2 separate regions of the Homo sapiens genome follow, and region 2 is linked to region 1. Evidence: promoter capture Hi-C in human tissues and cell types (Jung and others, 2019). All regions are on one chromosome and are shown on one strand. Each heading gives the region's core, a stretch centred on a gene start or on the middle of the fragment in contact. The rest is flanking DNA. Distances are from core to core; before and after follow the strand shown. Region 1 holds the start of IRF3 (interferon regulatory factor 3). Region 2 overlaps SLC6A16 (solute carrier family 6 member 16).

The links. The method cuts DNA at HindIII sites, captures the fragments that hold promoters and counts their contacts. A contact is called where the count stands out against the background at its distance.
Region 2: a contact is called between a fragment that was not itself captured here and the fragment with the promoter of IRF3 in region 1, in 1 of the 25 tissues and cell types used here (adrenal gland).

What each region holds. Positions count from the first base shown.
Region 1 is chr19:49,664,499-49,669,661 of GRCh38, reverse strand. It overlaps IRF3 (interferon regulatory factor 3), which reads left to right and starts at 3,805. Exons shown (of 8, transcript NM_001571.6): 1 at 3,805-4,031; 2 at 4,816-4,988. The coding sequence starts at 4,824. BCL2L12 (BCL2 like 12) reads right to left here and starts at 3,729. Exons shown (of 7, transcript NM_138639.2): 1 at 3,595-3,729; 2 at 2,863-2,977; 3 at 2,501-2,643; 4 at 725-811; 5 at 547-638. The coding sequence starts at 2,969. RefSeq lists silencers at 3,557-3,636, 3,677-3,826. The HindIII fragment of the contact is 43,433 bases long and covers 1-5,163 here.
Region 2 is chr19:49,318,650-49,323,643 of GRCh38, reverse strand. All of the region lies in intron 1 of SLC6A16 (solute carrier family 6 member 16), which reads left to right. Among named protein-coding and RNA genes, the nearest start is that of SLC6A16, 4.0 kb to the left of the region's middle. The HindIII fragment of the contact is 3,182 bases long and covers 1-2,980 here.

The DNA of each region.
Region 1 (5,163 bases), core at 2,556-5,055:
ATGGCCACACCCTCTGCATTTAGGCCATGCCCCTCTAAACAATCAATTAAAACAACTAATTTACGGTACAGTACTACCCTAACCATACCCCTGTCATTCAACTATTCTTTTTTTTTTTTTTTTTTAAAGACAGAGTCTCACTCTGTCACCCAGGCTGGAGTGCAGTGGCGCAATCTTGGCTCACTGCAACCTCCACCTCCTGGGCTCAAGCGATTCTCCTGCCTCAGCCTTCTGAGTAGCTGGGATTACAGAAGCGCACCACCACACCTGTCCGATTTTTGTATTTTTAGTAGAGATGGGGTTTCACCATGTTGGCCAGGCTGGTCTCGAACTCCTGACCTCAAGTCATCCACCCAACTCGGCCTCCCAAAGTGCTGGGATTACAGGCGTGAGCCACCACACCCGGCCTCAACCCTTCATTGAAACCTTGTCCCAGCCTCTTTCCACCTGACCATCCAAAGAAAATACAGATCCAGCTTCTGATCCCAGTGCCCCACCATTCCGCAACTCCTGTCCTTGCCAAGGAGTGGGACAGATGCCCATCACCTTCTGGTTAATGACTTCTGCCTCCTCCTCCAGCAGGGCCACCAGCCTCCGCAGTATGGCTTCCTTCTCTGTCGATGGGGGACCCTGTAATTCTGGAGGCAGAAGAGAATTTGGCTGGGGGCAGAACCCTGACTATCCTCCCACCGCCATCCTTCTCTGGGGCTCCTCTGTGCCTCACCTGGGCTGGGCGGAGATTTCAGCTGCTCTTGGACCAGCTGTTCCAGCCGCTGGGCCACCAAAGCATAGAAGTCTGGAGTAGCTGGGCCTGGGGTGAAAAGAGTTAATGACAGGTTTCCAGGACATTGGAAACTTACGGATTCTCTCCTTCCCCCAACTACCTTGGCAGGTGGCAATGATTCCCATTTTATTTATTATTTATTTATGTATTGATTTTGGGAAACGGAGTCTCGCAATTCTCCTGCCTCAGCCTCATGAGTAGCTGGGACTACAGGCGCACGCCGCCATACCTGGCTAATTTTTTGTATTTTAGTAGAAATGGGGTTTCACCGTGTTGCCCAGGCTGACCTCAGGCAATCCACCCACCTCAGCCTCCCAAAGTGCTAGGATTACAGGCGTGAGCAACCAAGCCTGGCCATGATTCCCATTTTATAATGGGGTAAACTGAGGCCCAGTGAGAAAACTTGGTTAAAAATGCCAAAACCCTTGTACTTTTCACTTTATGAGATCCTCAGACTGGACTTAGAATGTCAGAGCTGGGGCCAGGCGCAGTGGCTCACGCCTGTAATCCCATCACTTTGGGAGGCTGAGGCAGGCAGATCACCTGAGGTTGGGAGTTCGAGAGCAGCCTGACCAACATGGAGAAACCCCATCTCTACTAAAAATACAAAAAAAATTAGCCGGGCATGGTGGCGCATGCCTATAATCCCAGCTACTTGGGAGGCTGAGGCAGGAGAATTACTTGAACCCGGGAGGTAGAGGTTGTGGTGAGCCGAGATCGGGCCATTGCACTCCAGCCTGGGCAACAAGGGCGAAACTCCGTCTCAAAAAAAAAAAAAAAAAAAAGAATGTCAGAGCTGACAGGGTGCGGTGGCTCACGTCTGCAATCTCAACATTTTGGGAGGCCGACGTGGGAGGGTCACTTGAGGCCAGGAGTTTGAGGCCAGCCTGGCCAACGTGGCGAAACCCCGTGTCTACTAAAAGTATAAAAATCAGCTAGTATGCTGGCGTGCACCTGTAATCCCAGTCACTCGGGAGGCTGAGGCACGAGAATCGCTTGAACCCAGGAGGTGGGGATTGCAGTGAGTCGAGATTGCACCCCTGCACTCCAGCCTGGGTGACAGAGCAACAATCTGTCTCCAAAAGACTGTCAGAGCTCAACTAGACCTTGAAGATGATCTCATCCAAGGAAGGCAAACACAAGACATTACTGTTAGTATCCCCTTCCCTCACTCACTACAGACATCACCAATTGATCACAGCACTTCCTCTCCCAAGCTGTGAACCCCTTTTCAAGCTAGCACTCCCAGCAGCCATTACTAGTCTGTCCAGGTTCACACCTATGAGGAAACTTGTGGGTCACCTTGATCAAGTCCAGTGACCTCCTCCCCAATTCCTACTCTGCTATTGGAAAAACAGGGGAGCAGGGAAGAGAAAGCATTTTCCCCAGAGTCACGCAACTAAAACAGCCAGGGAGATGTGATTGAAAACCAGCCCTTCTGCCCCTCTATCAGGGGTATTCCTGGCTACAAAAGTCCTAGGGGCAGGGAAGTAGTTATGGAAGGAAAGAGACAACAACCAGATTGACCAAATGCTCTCTGAAAGCCAACCCACAGAATTGACAGAAATCTAACTGGGGAGGGGAGAGGACAGGACGGTTCTGTCCTGAAGGCTGGTGCTAGAGACTCCACACAGCCACCCCCTAGCTGAGTGATCTTAAACTAGCACCTTATCCCGTGTTCTGCCGGCTTCATAGATGATCATGGAAATCTCTTACCAGGCTCTAAACCATAGCAGGGGCGGATGGGCAGAGAGCAAGGCCGAGGGGACTCAGAGGGGGCTGCTCCTCGCCCCAGGGAGCAGGGAAGACATCTTCGAAGGCGGCTCAGGAAGTCTGTTGGCTCTTCTTGGGCAGGGCTTCTGGAGAGGAGGACTTCAGAGACTGACCCCACCAGAGATCCCCTGCAAGCAGTCTCTTTCCCCAACTCCCTCCCTCCCCCGCTGAGGACCTCTCTCCAAAACCCCAAAGACAGAGAATAGAGCCAGATATAAAGAGAGGAGACAGACTGAGACCAGGAGCAAGAGTTAGGAGGGAGCCTCAAATGCTGGCCCCTGGGGGAGAAGGGCCACTCCTCTTACCTAGGTGGAGTTGGAACAGGAGACCCGGCAGCCTCACCACGCCTAAGGAAGGCAGCTAGGACCCTCAGCGTGTCTTCCCGGAGCCCCAGCTCTTCAGAGCCTGCCATGGAGGCACCTGTGAGAGAGAGGGTTAGGGACTGGACTCCAAGGGTTTAGCAAGAAGTGGAGGCTTGGGGACCAGGACTTGTGAGTCCCAAGGAAGGTGCTGAGGGCCTGGACTCCTGGGTCCTTTGGAGAGTGTGGGTCTGGGGGCCTAGACTCTTGAGTCCTCAGACGAAAAAGCGATCAGGAAAAAGACTCTTCGATCCAAGGAAAGGTGGTGGGGCTGGGTGCCCAGATTCGTGGGTCTAAAGGAGGAGGGAGCTGGGGTCCTGGACTTCTGAGTCTTAGAGAAAAAGGAACTGGAGCCCCAGACCCTTAGGTCTCCCAGGAAGAAGAGGCTTAGCGCCCCAACTCCTGGATTCTATAAGAGGCATATGCCAAACTCCTGAAACCCTTAAAGCATCGGGAACTACCAATCCCAAGAGGTTTCAGGGCAAATCTTCCCCTAGGTCCGCGCTTCTTCGCCGCGCAGCCTGCTGTGAGGTGTAGTTCCAAATCTCCGACCCCTGCTGGAATCTAGAGGACCCTGGACCCTTGGATATCAGAGAAGCGGGACTGGGGTGCCCACCACTGGATCCCGGCCCCCTCCTCTTCCCTCCTCACCCCACCCCTCGTCAACACCCCGCTGACCTGGTCCGGGGCCCCACCGCCGCCTCCTCCACTCAACTTGCGGTCTCCTCCACTGAACTCGTACAAACTTTATTAGTTCAACTTTCCCGCGCCTGCGCACTGGGCCGGGTCGATAACCGGCCCAGCGTAGAAAGGGCGGAACGCTGGGTGCACGCTCAATTTGCATGTGACGCTCCCAGCATGCCTCTGGCCGGAAACCCAAAAAAGGGCATAGGGGCGGGAACAGCCCAGCGGGCCGTCCCATCGGCTTTTGGGTCTGTTACCCAAAGAATGATAAAGTTGGTTTTATTTCAAGAAGTCGATCAAAAAGAAAGCCCCAGCGCTCTAGAGCTCAGCTGACGGGAAAGGGGGTGCGCAGCCTCGAGTTTGAGAGCTACCCGGAGCTCCAAGACAGGGGTGGGTTCCAGCTGCCCGCACGCCCCGACCTTCCATCGTAGGTAACGCGGAAGAGCCCGGGAGAGCGTTGGTGGCGTCCGAGAGCGAGGAGCGGGAAAGAGGATGGGTCTGCACGGAGAGTGGAAAGGCAGGCTGTGTACTCTGGGGAAAGTGGAGCAAGGAAGGAGCTACAGTGGCCGACGCTGGAGGTCGGCTGCAGAAAAACTAGAAAAAGTAGGGAGGAAAGAGGAAAAGAGGAGGCGTCTACACTGAGGGGGTTCTAGAGAGGGAGGGGTGGACTCCGTAGATGGGGGTAGTTCAGTCTCGAAACCTGGGGCGTGCTCTGTCCTGGAGGAGGGAGGCGGGCAGTCGGAGGGGAATTGAATGGAAGTTCTGTGTTGGAAATGTTTTGGGAGATCTTCTGTAGGGGGACTGTGGAAGGGGGTCTACATTGGGGTAAGTGCAGGAGGTAGAGGCTTACACGTGAATCGATTCTGCACTGAAATAACTAGGGAAAGAGGATGCTACCCTGAAAGTGGGGATACTTACTTTCGATGATGTGGGGGAGGGAGGAGGTCTATACTGGCGGAATTGAGGGAGTGGAGGGTCTGCACTGAAGACGCTGGGGAAGGATGTGCCATGGATATGGGAAGGAACCCTAGCTGATTAGAGAGCCTCTCGGGAGGATGGGAGGATGGGAAGAGGAGGTTTCCTGTTTGTACCCCCGAAAATATGGGTGAAGGACCTGTGCCGTGGCCCGTGAGAAGGAGGTCTGGGTGCGGAAACTCCAGGCCAGGTGGGTCCGGGGGAGGCCGGTCGCGCCCAGGAAATGCCCTATACGCGCAGGCCGGACCATGGGAACCCCAAAGCCACGGATCCTGCCCTGGCTGGTGTCGCAGCTGGACCTGGGGCAACTGGAGGGCGTGGCCTGGGTGAACAAGAGCCGCACGCGCTTCCGCATCCCTTGGAAGCACGGCCTACGGCAGGATGCACAGCAGGAGGATTTCGGAATCTTCCAGGTGCGTGCGACGACCTGGGACGCTGGAAACCCGGAGCTGCGCGCTGGGCGGAAAGGACTCCTAGTGGGCCCGGCTGAGAAGGCGGAGGTGGCGCGCGAGGGGCGGGCTCGTGCCAACGCTGGTGGGTGGGGCTAGAACGGGAGGGGCGGGGCTAGCCGGATCCGCTGACTGATGG
Region 2 (4,994 bases), core at 140-2,639, 340 kb after region 1:
TTGCATTTCCTTAATGATTAGTGACGTTGAACATCTTTTCATGTACTTCTTGGAGATTGGTATATCTTCCTTGGAGAAATGTCTATTTAAGTCTTTTGCCCATTTTTGAATTGTGTTGTTTGTTTCTTTGTTGTTGAGTTTTACGAGTTCTCTATATATTCTGAATATTAATCTCTTATTATACATATGATTTTCAGATATTTCCTCCCATTCTGTGGGTTATCTTTTCACCCCTTTGATAGTGTCTCTTGATGCACAAATTTAAAACATTTTAATGAAATCCTGTTTGTTTCTTCTTTTGTTGCTTTTGCCTTTGGTATCATATCCAAGAATTCATTGCAGATCCACTATCATGAAGCTTTTGTCGTATGTTTTATTCTAAGAATTTTATAATTTTAAGTGTTACATTTAGGTCTTTGATTTATTTTGTGTATTTGTATGTGGTGTTAGGTAAGAGTCCATCTTTACTCTTTTGCCTGTACATAATCCAGTTTTCCCAGCACCATTTGTTGAAAAGACTGTCCTTTACTCATTGAGTAGTCTTGGCACCCTTGTAAAAAATCATTTTTCCATACATTGTTTCTGGGCCCTCTATTCTGTTCCCTTGGTCTGTATCTTTATGTGAGTAACACACTATTTTGATTACTATAGCTTTGTAATATGTTTTGAAATCAGGAAATGTGAGTACACCAGCGTTTTTCTTCTTTTTCAAGATTATTTTGGCTGTTCAGGGTCCCTTGAGATTTCATGTTAGTTTTAGGACGTGTTTTTCTATTTCTGCAAAAAAAAAAAAAAAAAAAAAAAAAAAAAAAAAAAAAAAAAAAAAGCTACTAATTCTGTAGATTGCTTTGGGTAATACTGACATCTTAACAGTGTTGTCTTCCAACCCATGAACATGGGATATTTTTCCATTTATTTATGTCTCCTTTAATTTTTTTCAGCAATGTTTTGTAGTTTTCTTTGTACATGTCTTTCACCTTCTTGGTTAATTCTTTTTTTTTTTTTTTTTGAGATGGAGTTTCACTCTTGTTGCCCAGGTTGGAGTGCAATGGTGCAATCTCGGCTCACTGCAACCTCTGCCTCCCAGGTTCAAGTGATTCTCCTGCCTCAGCCTCCTGAGTAGCTGGGATTACAGGCATGTGCCACCATGCCTGGGTAACTTGGTAATGGAAACGGGTTTTCTCCATGTTCGTCAGGCTGGTCTCGAACTCCTGACCTCAGGTGATCTGCCCACTTTGGCCTCCCAAAGTGCTGGGATTACAGGCTTGAGCCACCGTGCCCAGCCAAGTTAATTCTTAAGTATTTTATTCTTTCTGATGCTATTACAAATGGAATTGTTTTCATAATTTTCTTTTCAGATTGTTCATTGTTAGTGTATAAAAATGCAACTGAGTTTTGATTGTTGACTTTGTATCCTGCTACTTTGCTGAATTCATTTATTAGCTCAAAAATTTTTTTGGTGAAAATTTTAGGATTTTCTACGTATAAGATCATATAATCTTTCTAGTTTGGTTTCCTTTTATTTATTTATATTTTTGCCTAATTTCTCTGGCTAGGACTTCCAGTACTATGTTGAATAAAAGTGGCAAAATTAGACATTCTACGCTTGTTTCTAATCTTAGAGGAAAAGCTTACAGTCTTTTATCATTAAGTATGACATTTGCTGTGAGTTTTTCGTATATGGCTATTATGTTGGGATATTTTCCTTTTTTTTTTTTTGCTGAGACATGGTGTCACTTTGTGACCCAGGCTGGAGTGTAGTGGTGTCATCATGGCTCACTGTAGCGTTGACCTCCTGGGCTGAAGTGATTCTCCCATCTCAGCCTCATGAGTAGCTAGGACTACAGAAGTACATCAACACACCCAGGTAATTAAAAATTTTGTTTGTTTGTTTGTTTGTTTGTTTTTGAGATGGAGTCTTGCTCTGTCACCCAGGCTGGAGTGCAGTGGTATGATCTTGGCTCACTGCAACCTCTGCCTCCCAGGTTCAAGCGATTCTCCAGCCTTAGCCTCCCAAGTAGCTGGGACTACAGGTGCACACCACCACATCTGACTAATTTTTGTATTTTTAGTAGAGATCAGGTTTCACCATGTTAGCCAGGCTGGTCTTGAACTCCTGACCTCAGGTGATCCACCCGCCTTGGCCTCCCAAAGTGCTGGGATTACAGATGTGAGCCACTGCACCTGGCCCCAGGCTGGTCTTGAACTCCTGGGTTCAAGTGGTCATCAGGCCTCCCAAAGTGTTGGGATTACAGGCATGAGTCACCATGCCCAGCCGTATTTTCCTTTAACTCCTAGATTGTTGAGTTTTTTTTTTTTTTTTTATCATGAAAGGGTATTGAGTTTTGTCAAATGTTTTTTCTGCATCAGTTGAGAGAATCATTATTTTTCTTTCATTTTGTTAATGTGGTATATTATATTGATTGATTTTTGTATGCAGAACCATCCTTGCATTCCAGGAATAAATCCCACTTGGTCATGGTATATAATCCTTTTAATATGCTGCTGAATTAGGTTTGGTAGTATTTTTTTTGAGGATTTTTGCATCAAAGTTCATAATGAATATAGGTCTGTAGTGTTCTTTTCTTATAATGTCTTTGTATGGCTCTGGTATTAGGGCAATGTTGGCCTTATAGGATGAATGAGGAAGTGTTCCCTCCTCTCCAATTTTTTGGAAAAGTTTGAGAAGGATTGATATTAATTCATTAAAGGTTTAGTAGAATTCACCCATGAAGCCATCAGGTCCAGAGCTTTTCTTTGTTGAGAGATTTTTGATTACCAATTCAATCTCCTTACTAGTTATAGATCTATTCAGATTTTCTGTTTGTGATTTAGTCTTAGTAGATTTGTATTTCTAGGAATTTGTCCATTTAATCTAGGTTATCCAGTTTATTGGTGTACAGTTGTTCATAAGTTCATAGTACTCTCTTATAATCCTTCTATTTCTGTAGAATTGGTAATAATGTCCCCATTTTCATTTCTGGTTTTAATCATTTGAGTCTTCTCTTTTTTTCTTAGTACATCTAGTTAAAGGTTTGTCAATTTTGTTGATATTTTTAAAGAAACAACTTTTGGCTTCTCTATTGTTTTTCTATTCTCTATTCATTTCTGCTTTAATTTTTATTATTTTCTTCTGCTAGCTTTGGGTTTAGTTTGCTTTTCTAGTTTCTTAAGTTTTAGAGTTAGGTTATTGATTCAAGATCTGGTTTTTTTTTGTTTGTTTGTTTGTTTGTTTTTAGAGGGAGTCTTGCTCTGTTGCCCAGGCTGGAGTGCAGTGGTGTGATCTCGGCTCACTGCAACCTCCGCCTCCTAGGTTCAAGCGATTCTCCTGCCTCAGCCTCCTGAGTAGCTGGGATTACAGGCGCCCACCACCATGCCTAGCTAATTTTTGTATTTTAATAGAGATGGGGTTTCACTATGTAGGTCAAGCTGGTCTTGAACTCCTGACCTCAAATGATCCACCCACCTCAGCCTCCCAAAGTGCTGGGATTACAGGCGTGAGCCACTGCATCCGGCCTCTTTTTTGTTTTTTAATGTAACCATTGATAGTTATAAATTTCCCCCTTGGCATTGCTTTTGTTGCCTCCCATAAATTTTAGTATGTGTGTTTTCGTTTTCATTTATCTGTAAGTATTTTCTAACTCCCCTTGTAGTTTATTCTTTGATCCATTGGTTGTTTAAGAGTGTGTTGTTTAATTTCTACAAATTTGTAAAATTTTCAATTTTACTTTTGTGATTCATTTCTAACTTCATCCTATTGTGGCTGGAGAAGATATTTTGTATGATATTTATCATTCTAATTCTATTGAGAAAAAAAGGAAATTTGTGGCCTACAAATTTGTGGTCTCTCCTGGAAAATGTCCCATGTGCACTTGAGAAGAATGTGTATTCTGCTGCTGTTGGCTAGAGTGTTCTGAATACATCTGTTAGATCTGGTTGGTTTATTGTGTTAAGTCCTCTATTTCCTTGCTTATCTTCTGTCTGCTGCTTCTGTCCATTGTTCGTAGTGGGGTATTAAAGTCTCCAGTTATTATTGTAGAACTGTCCTTTTATCCTTTCAATTATGTGAGTCTTTTCTTGATATATATATGTATATGTATATATCGTATAGGTATATGTATATACATATACACATATACACATATATGTATAAGTATATGTATATACATATACACATATACACATATGTATATGTATATGTATTTATATGTATATACAAATATATATATATACACACACACATATATGAAGGAATTAGGGAGGAGTAAAGAAGAGTACTTGGTCAACATACAGCAGGTTCATCTCATTGTACAAATGTAAGTTTCTCAAGCTTCAGTTCTATGGGCATCTGGCTTGTTGGAAAATTGGCCTGGTTTCATTTTCCCATCCTCCCTTTATTTTGGACCTCCAGTTACACATTTTAGGCCATTTGATATTGTCTCACAGTCACTAATGCTCTGGTAATTGTTTTCAGTCTTTTTTTTTTCTTTGTGCTTCATTTTGGATTGTTTCTATTGCTATATCTTTAAGTTCACTGATTTATTAAAATCTGCCAGTAATCTTCAGTGAAATTTTCATTTCAGGTGTTGTATCATCTCTAGAAGTTCTATTTGATGTTTAAAATATATCATGGCTAGGCATGGAGGCTCATGCCTGTAATCCCAGCACTTTGGGAGGCCATGGTAGCTGGATCACATGAGATCAGGAGTTCGAGACCAGCCTGGCCAACATGGCAAAACCCTGTCTCTACTAAAAAAAAAAAAAAAAAAAAAAAATAGCCAGTTGTGGTGGTGCACACCTGTAATTCCAGCTACTTGGGAGGCTGAGGAAGGAGAATTGCTTGAAACTTGGAGGCAGAGGCTGCAGTGAGCTGAGATCAGTGTGGGCAACAGAGTGAGACTCTGTCTCAAAAGAGAAAATATCTATCTGTCTGTCTAGCTAGCTAGCTATCTAGCTATCTTATATTCCTCATTCTGTTCATGTTTTCCTTTTAA